3 separate regions of the Homo sapiens genome follow, and regions 2 and 3 are each linked to region 1. Evidence: promoter capture Hi-C in 16 types of primary human blood cells and fetal thymus (Javierre and others, 2016). All regions are on one chromosome and are shown on one strand. Each heading gives the region's core, a stretch centred on a gene start or on the middle of the fragment in contact. The rest is flanking DNA. Distances are from core to core; before and after follow the strand shown.

Region 1 (2,846 bases), core at 233-2,732:
AGGCTAACACTTTCACACACACATCCCAAATTTTAAAAGTCTTAAATTTGGCAAATACAGTTAATTCTATCATAAGGAAACGTTTGCGTGAAAGGGGGAACCCACATACTAAATGCCAAACAAAAAATGTGCTACAATGTGTTAATTATAGCTCCAAGGCTACAGGACATATTTTACAATGTAAACAGTCCCTGCAAACATCAATGCATTTATGGTTTAAAAAAATACAAACTGCACACATTTGAACCGTAGGGAATAAGTCTGAGCTAGCGTCAACAAAATCCATCTCAAAAGTTCTTATATTCTCATTTCTCTGGTAAGTTTTTGCATGTGTTAATATACTTCAGTGTATAAGAAAAGTCTAGGTCTGCAACGTTTCAACTAAAGACTCAACTTTTTACTTCCTACCGAACCGCCCCCTCGCAATGGGCCCCACCTCCCGAGAAGAGTGACGGGGTGGGGCTGTTTCCCGCTCGGAAACTAAGAAATAAATGCCTCATCCCTACTCCAGAAACGAGAACAACGGAGGCAGAGGAGCTGAAGACTCCAGTATGCAACTGACTACAAGGAGGTAGTCGTTTGAAAAGCTTTCTTTCCTTCTCTGAACTCCTTCTTTCCCTCCTCTCAGGTCATTGGGTGACCCCGGGCCGGGCGGAGACAGGTGAATCCCAAGAGAGGAGGAAGAGGGAGGGACAGATGATGGAGGGAGAACCGCGTTTAGGCAATGAATGAGCCTGCTGCATCCGCACCACCTGTTCCTTCCAAGGGTGCCACCCCGACCTGCCAGCAGGGTTCCCACACCAACCGGGCCGCGACTCCTGCCGGTGTCGCCCACTTGCCCGCCAAAGGCCGGGCCTCTTCTCCCCCAGATCGGGGAGAATGAGAACCGGCAGTCTAGAAGCCGGGAGGTCGGGGCCTAGTCCGGAACCAGGGCCTCAAGCGTGGGGATGGAATGAAGAAGCCTGTGGTCCCTGGCGCGCGGGCCATAGTAGGAACCACAGAGAGGGAGCAAAGCAATGCATTCGGCCTGACGAGAGCTATGAAGGCGGGGTCCCGGGCGGGAGTGGCTCAGTGCCCGCCGGGCCGAGGTTAGGGGTGACAGGCCCGGTTACCGGCTAAATCCTCCCCACCGCTTGCCCGGAGCCTCACACTTACCAAGATCCGCTTGAAGAGCGCATTCTCCTTGGGCGGGAGGCTCACGGCCGGCATCGTTCCGGCTGCTCCCGCTGCTCCCGCCACCACCCGGCTCGGTCAGTCAGTTTGTCCGACCGCCGCCGCTGCCGTTCCGTAGCTGCTTCAGCCTTGAATATCTCGATCCGCCGCCACCACCAGGCCTCGGGTGTCGCCGCGTTGCCCTACCCGGACACCTCCTTTTTCCTCGTTGTCTTTTTTCCTTTCTCACTTAACGCTGCCGCCGCCTCCCCCACTACGGGTCTCCGTCGGCGGTTCACGTGGTAACTGAACAGACCGACAGAGGCAGCCAAAATGGCGGACGCGGAGGGTTTTCCCACCCGGGTCACGCTTCCTAACACGCAGGCGCGGTGACCTCCTTTCCCCACCTCCTCTGGGTTTCGGAGCTTGCCGGGAAACCTGGAGGCTGGCCTGCCTGTGGAGGCCGGGAGGGTCGGGGCAGGCCCCGCCCATCATTTCAGTGCGTGGTACCCTCGAAGCGCCCGCGGAGCTACGGGAGGCTAGGCAAGTACGGTTCAGACCGCCTCCTCATCAAAAACAGCCTCTCTGGCGCCTTCCTGCTAGATCGACCTTTCATTCCTTGGAAAGAGTCTCGCACACTGTGTGATCATCGTTTGAGCCCAAAGTGCTAAAATACAGGTGTAGGTGTTTGAGAAGCGCTGTAGTTGATTATGGACGAAATGCCTAATTTAAGGAGCAGAGGCGGAGTGGAAAATGAAAAAAGCTTCACCGCAGTGGAGACTTGTTAACAGCCCTGGGGAGAAAGGGGCTTAACAGAGTCTGGAAATCGTGAAAGAGCTTGACCGATGAAATGGGCCTGGCTGTCGTATCGGTAATTTGGTGAATGTTGCTTAAGATCAGCCTGGAAAGGTAGTTAGTCAGATCCGAAGTGACATATTTGCACTGCCAAAGGAGGCTCTGGAGGTTAAAGTATGTGTTTTAATTTCGTTGTTGAGGCCATATAATGCAGAGTTGACGGACCGACCTTATGAGTCACCTTGGAGCGGAGTAGTGGAGACTTAAAGACAGACTACCCTGGAGCTGGCTTCAAACTAGTTCTTAATATTGTGACTCGAACTCCCCATCCCCAGAAATTCTCAGATCTTAGAAGCCAAAGACTGGCAAGGATACTAGAGGGAACTACTCGAGTAGGCGAGGTCAGACTACATACCGAATAGGAGTCCTTCCAAAAATGTAAGTCATTTCATTAACAGCTGACCGTAAAACTTTTTCAAAGTGGCATTCCATTGATCTAAAAATTTTCAAGTTATATGAGCCACTTTTAACCTTTGGTTTTTGATTACCTCTTTCCAAATCCTGATTTCACTCTGTAGCATTCTTTGCATCATGAATTATTAAACAATATGTGCGTGTTTTTTACTGTTTTAAATTTATTTGCAAAGATATTTTAATTTTCAAACTTCTCTTAACTGTCCCTGAAAGGTGTGAGTTGAGATACATGTTTCCCAATATAAACTTGGGTTTTGTAGCTGCTATATTGATTGTCCTCGCCCTTCACCGGGGTCATAAATAAGGTTTTTAACAGTCAAATCCTGGAGTTTCCTTAAATTCTGTGATCTCTCTTCAAAAGTTTGAGAAAAATCATATATACAGGAAACTATGTTTCAGTTTGAAATATGGCCAGTATTTTAACC
Region 2 (2,846 bases), core at 243-2,742, 360 kb before region 1:
AAAGCAGGATCTAGAGATTGGTGAGGAGAAATAGAAGTCCCCATTCTTGACAGCTCTCAGCACATGCAGCCCTCCCCACACACACAAAGTCACACACACACACATCCAGATTCATACACATTCCTACGCACACACACCCACACTCATAAACACCCACACACACGCACACACACTTGTGCACTCACACATTCACATTCATGTACTCCCATCACACATTCAAAACACACACTCATACACTTACATACTCTACAAAAACTTACGTTCCAAAAGGAAATTTGTAAGCTGAATGTTTAGACCTCAGAACACATATTTTCACAAAAATAATATTATGGCCAGGAGCGGTGGCTCACGCCTCTAATCCCAACTCTTTGGGAAGCCGAGGTGGGCGGATCACTTGAGGTCAGGAGTTCAGGACCAGCCTGGCCAACATGGTGAAACCCTGTCTCTACTAAAAATAGAAAAATTAGCCAGGCATGGTGTCACGTGCCTGTAGTCCCAGCTACTCTACTCAGGAGGCTGAGGCAGGAGAATCACTTGAACCCAGGAGGCGGAGGTTGCAGTGAACTGTGATCGTGCCACTGCACTGCAGCCTGGACGACAGAGCCAGACTCCGTCTCAAAAAATAATAATAATAATATAAATGGTGGCCATGTTTCCAGGTTACCACACATGAAACAAAACTTTCTATTCTTTTTTTTTTTTTTTTGCTTTTGTGTTTTAAATCAAATTTGAACCCATAAATTAGGTAACATACTGCATATTGGCAATTAAGCAACAACAAAAACAACTAATACTATTGGTTTGCCTTTTTCATGGAATCATTACAAACTTTTTAAACTGAATAGTACTTTGTATTAGATACTTTAAAACAGGGTCACTGGCGTGAACGTGCCCTGGCTCCTGTAGGCCATGCTCAGAGCTCGACTGTTGAACTTGCTGGGATAGAGCAGCAAGAGACGGGACAGCCTGGAGCCCAGAGGCCTGAGGTGTTCTGGATGAGCCCAGGGCTGCTGAGAAGGCCTCACTCTGATGGGGGCCTCTCATGCCCACCCTGCCAGCTCCCAAATCCAGTCAACAGAAGGCACTGTACTAGGCCCTATGCCAACCACTGGACAGAATTATCTCAACTAATCTGCATAGTCAAACAGTAAAGTGCATATATTATTCCCATTCTTCAGATGGAGAAACTGAGGCTGAGAGGTTAGTGACTGGCCCAGAGTCAGTACAACCCAGTCCTGCTGCCCCAGAGCCTTTACTCTTAACTTTGGCTGCACATTGGAATCATGTGAGGAGGGGTCATTAAAAATTACAGAACTTCAGATTTAATTAGCTCAGGTTCAGCCTAGGCACCTGAACGTTTTAAAGCTTCCCAGGTAATCCTAATGCACAGCCAGGTGGAGAACCACTGTCTTAACCAATGTTTCTCAGCATAGCCCATACCACTGCTACCACACTGGAGGTGACAGAAACACACAGATGTCTGGGCCTCATCCAGGATCCATTATGACACGCCAGCAAAGCACACATGGTCTCATGTAACTTGCACAAAACTCCCAGGAGCCTGTAAATTATTCCCATTTTATAGATAAGGAAACTGAAACTGAGACCTAGAAAGCTTCAAGAGCTTGACAAATCACTCCATTTGACTGCATCCAAAAGAGGGAAGATGGGGCAGGGCTGTTGAGGGGGTGAATAATCTGGTAGGTGCCCAAAGTGAGCATCAGTGGTGCCAGGATAGAGGAGAAAGGGGTGTGGAAGGTTCTGCAGTGGCAGAAGGGAAGAGGTGAGGCTGGGAATAGATGGGACCTGTAGGCCTCACGGGTGCAGCCCAGGAGAAATGCTGGTTTCCACTGGAGGAGTTTACAGTATGCCTGGGTGGAAGAGAGAAGGACAGACAGACATGGGAGGGAAATCTGAGGCTGAGATGGGGCAACAGGCTCTGAGGCACCAGCAAAGGTAAGTGTGGCTGGAGCCGAGTCTCAGCTGATTGGGCCCAGTACTTCCCCGCCCACTGGCTTTGAAGTGCATGGAGACTGGTGATTCTCACATTAGAATCACCAAGGGCGTTTTTGAAATAAACACTGATTTAACTGAAAAATCTCCAGGACTACCAACTACTGCCTCAGAGAACTTACTGAGATTTCTATGCACCAGAGGAGAGTTTACTCTCTTGAAACCTACAGCATATTATGTGATTGGGCTACTTAAAGAAAAAAAGGGGTACCGTGGCTTCACTTGGTGTCTCTCTGGGGCTTAAGGCAAAAGAAAAAGGGCAAGCTACCCCTCTTTTGATGAGAAAACACAAAAGGTTGGTGGATTAAGAACAAACAGTTAAAAGCAGCTCTTATTCACTTTGAAATGTGGTGCTAAACCTGCATCTGGGCTGACACACCAAACAACAGTCATTTCAACACAGCACAATCCTGTTAGAACATGACTCACAAAAACACCGATGTGTCTAGATCGGAGGCCAAGTCACGTCCTGCACAAAAAGAAAGGAAACACAGCAAAACAAGAAACCTACTGGCCCCAAACAGGAAAGCCCTCCTGTGCATGCGGGCCTGTGACTGCATCCTTCAGCTACCTTAGCAAGATGATAAAGAACTTTGAAAACTGCTTGCCTGCTTCTCTTTTCTTTCTTTCTTTCTTTCTTTCTTTCTTTCTTTCTTTCTTTCTTTCTTTCTTTCTTTCTTTCTTCTTCCTCTTCCACTTCTTCCTTTCCTTTCTCCGCCTCTCCCTCCCCTCCTTCTCCTCCCCTTCCTCCCCCTCCCTTCTCCTCCTCCTCTTCCTCCTTCTTCTTTCTTTCTTCTTGTTCTTCCCTCGTTCTTCTTTCTTTTCTTCTTCCC
Region 3 (2,846 bases), core at 193-2,692, 260 kb after region 1:
TTTTTGAGACAGTGTCTCACTCTGTTGCCCAGGCTGGAGTGCAGTGGCTCAATCTCAGCTCACTGCAACCTCGATCTTGTTGCCCAGGCTGCAGTGCAATGGCGCAATCTCAGCTCACTGCAACCACCACTTTCTGGGTTCAAGCGATTCTCCTGCCTCAGCCTCCCGAGTAGCTGGGATTACAGGCATGCGCCACCACACCCGGCTAATTTTGTATTTTTAGTAGAAACGGGGTTTCTCCATGTTGGTCAGGCTGGTCTCGAACTCCTGACCACAGGTGATCCACCCACCTCGGCCTCCCAAAGTGCTGGGATTACAGGTGTGAGCCACTGCACCTGACTTGGTTTTTACAATTAAAGCAAGTAACTCGTGGTTTATTCTTTACACCTTCCATGTTTGTAGACTATCCAAGAACAATTAAAGTGTCTTTTTTCTTTCTAAAAAAAAAAAAAAAGTGAAAACCAGATGATTCCCTGTCTTAACCTCTTCTAGGAGCTCTCCATGCTGCTGCAGTCACCTCCATCTGCCCACACCTCTTCCTTCCACATAAAACAGTGCACTGTGGATGTGCAGAAGCAGAAAGGCAGTCACAGCAAACTTGACTGCAGAGGCACAAAAGCATCCAGCATACCTTGGGCGAGGATGTTCCATTGCATAACCCTGATAGGTGGGTGGGTACTAGGGCAATCTGTCCTCAGATCCACAAAATCCCTCTGGAACCGGGGAGGTCGGGTGTGCAGGACGGCCCTGCATTCCTCAAGAAGCTCTTTAGGATCAATGGGCTCCAGATGCTCTGGGTCAGGTGACACCAAATACTCTGGGTGCTGGGAGGCAGCGCTGCTGTTCAGTGTCTTGGCGAGAGCACTATAGAGTCTGCTTGTACCGGTTCCCATGGAACACACTACGGAAAAGGAAATCACAGTTACACACTCAGCTCCTTTTCCTGACTTCTCGCCCAGCACAACTGTAAGATAAACATTTACTGTCCACCGAAACCAGGAGCTCAATTGTTGCCATAATAGTGTATAAAGCCATTTCTTTTTTCTTTTTTTTTTTTTTTGAGATGGAGTTTCGCTCTTGTTGCCCAGGCTGGAGTGCAATGGCACAATCTCGGCTCACCGCAACCTCCACCCCCAGGTTCAAGCAATTCTCCTGCCTCAGCCTCCCAAGTAGCTGGGATTACAGGCATGCACCTCTACCCGCTGCTAATTTTGTATTTTCAGTAGAGATGGGGTTTCCCCATGTTGGTCAGGCTAGTCTGGAACTCCCGACCTCAGGTGATCTGCCCGCCTCGGCCTCCCAAAGTGCTGGGATTACAAGCATGAGCCACCACGCCCGGCGTATAAAGCCATTTCTACAGAGGCAGAATAAAGGAGTTTCCAGGTTCCAGCTTTCTACTAGGACAGTTAATTTAAGTACTACCGTTAAAACTAGCCTCTGATTAACAATGAAAACTCATCCTTTTAAGGAAGAAATACTTTGATCTTGATGGCCTCTTCTAACCTAGGATTTGTCTTTGTAATTTATAAAACCAGTCTTAAAAAAAGAGCAAGGCTTAACAAAATCTACATTCCTTTTTCTATATATCTTAAGAACCTCAAGACTAGGCTGGGCATGGTGGCTCACACCTGTAATCCCAGTACTTTGGGAGGCTGAGGCAGGTGGATCACTTGAGGTCAGGAGTTCGAGACCAGCCTGGCCAACATGGAGAAACCCTGCCTCTACCAAAAACATAAAAAATTAGCCGGGTGTGGTGGTGTGCGCCTGTAATCCCAGCTACTCAGGAGGCTGAGGCAGGCGAATTGCTTGAACCAGGGAGATGGTGGTTGCAGTGAGCTGAGGTGACTCTATTGAGCTCCAGCCTGGGTGACACAGCGAGACTCAAAAAAAAAAAAAAAAAAAAGATCTTAAAGACTAGTTTGTAAAAAGTGAAATGTTAGAAAGCCCATGTTAATGTTAATCCTGGGTGAGAGATTAGGTAATAGCAGGCTGCTTGCTACGCTGGTCATCTCATCTATACAGATCCCTCTGTTGGGGAAAGTAATGGCTAGATTCTTTCCCATTTCTCCTAGATGTTAAGTGTAAATCAAGGCTTGGGCTTTCTGTAGTAGAACTCTGAACTTCACTGAGTGGTATACTCTATAATCTTGTATCAATTGCTGGATTTCTTAAAATCCAGAAAAGGGGCTGAGGCCAGAAGGGCTTAGAGTAAGCTGATTTTGTTCAGCTAACTTCCATCCAGGGCACTACCTTCTCATGAGTTGCCCACATTTCCTGGGATCCTAGAAAGACAAAGAACAAGGAAAAATGCAGGAAGCACCAGTTACTTTGTCTTCCCGAGTTAATTTTTAGTGTTTTGCTTTTTATAATTCATTAAGGAGAACAGAGCATAATCTTCAACTAATTAGCATTATGTGGCAGTTCACTTGAAAGCAGTTGATTGCTCTTTTAGAGGTCAACTATGTTTTATTTTCATTATAGTATAAATTAGGGGCACATTTTACTGGGAGTAACATCCAAGATTCTCTGTATGATAAATGCTGGTACCAGGCAATCTGGATTTCCCTCTCTTGAGAGATACAAAGTTTTCTTTATAAAACATAAACATTTTATAAATGTAAACATTATATAAAGTTTTCTTTATAAAATTTGGCAGGCTTATCAATCACATCTCAAACTAGCAGTCAATCAAATTCACTGTGGCAGGTTACAAAGGAAATTCAATTATTTACCACCAAATGTCCTTGAACATTAAGGTCAATGAGGATGCAAGCATGCTTTTTTTGTTCCTTCCTGTCTACTCAAAGTAGTTTTTCCCTCCAGTAAGAAAGCTAGACTACAGCAAA

The links. Contacts are between HindIII fragments. The CHiCAGO score rates a contact against its expected background, and 5 or more counts as called.
Region 2: a contact is called between a fragment that was not itself captured here and the fragment with the promoter of NAA15 in region 1, in 1 of 17 cell types (total CD8 T cells). The highest score is 5.0, in total CD8 T cells.
Region 3: a contact is called between a fragment that was not itself captured here and the fragment with the promoter of NAA15 in region 1, in 13 of 17 cell types (total CD4 T cells, total CD8 T cells, non-activated CD4 T cells and 10 more). The highest score is 16.5, in total CD4 T cells.

The regions. Positions count from the first base shown.
Region 1 is chr4:139,300,141-139,302,986 of GRCh38, reverse strand. It overlaps NAA15 (N-alpha-acetyltransferase 15, NatA auxiliary subunit), which reads right to left and starts at 1,482. Exons shown (of 20, transcript NM_057175.5): 1 at 1,156-1,482. The coding sequence starts at 1,209. NDUFC1 (NADH:ubiquinone oxidoreductase subunit C1) reads left to right here and starts at 510. Exons shown (of 6, transcript NM_001184989.2): 1 at 510-571. RefSeq lists enhancers at 1,432-1,491, 1,972-2,091. The HindIII fragment of the contact is 1,328 bases long and covers 590-1,917 here.
Region 2 is chr4:139,657,521-139,660,366 of GRCh38, reverse strand. No RefSeq gene overlaps it. Among named protein-coding and RNA genes, the nearest start is that of MGST2, 6.9 kb to the left of the region's middle. The HindIII fragment of the contact is 250 bases long and covers 1,368-1,617 here.
Region 3 is chr4:139,041,129-139,043,974 of GRCh38, reverse strand. NOCT (nocturnin) reads right to left here. Exons shown (of 3, transcript NM_012118.4): 2 at 632-901. Among named protein-coding and RNA genes, the nearest start is that of NOCT, 27 kb to the right of the region's middle. The HindIII fragment of the contact is 7,272 bases long and covers 1-2,846 here.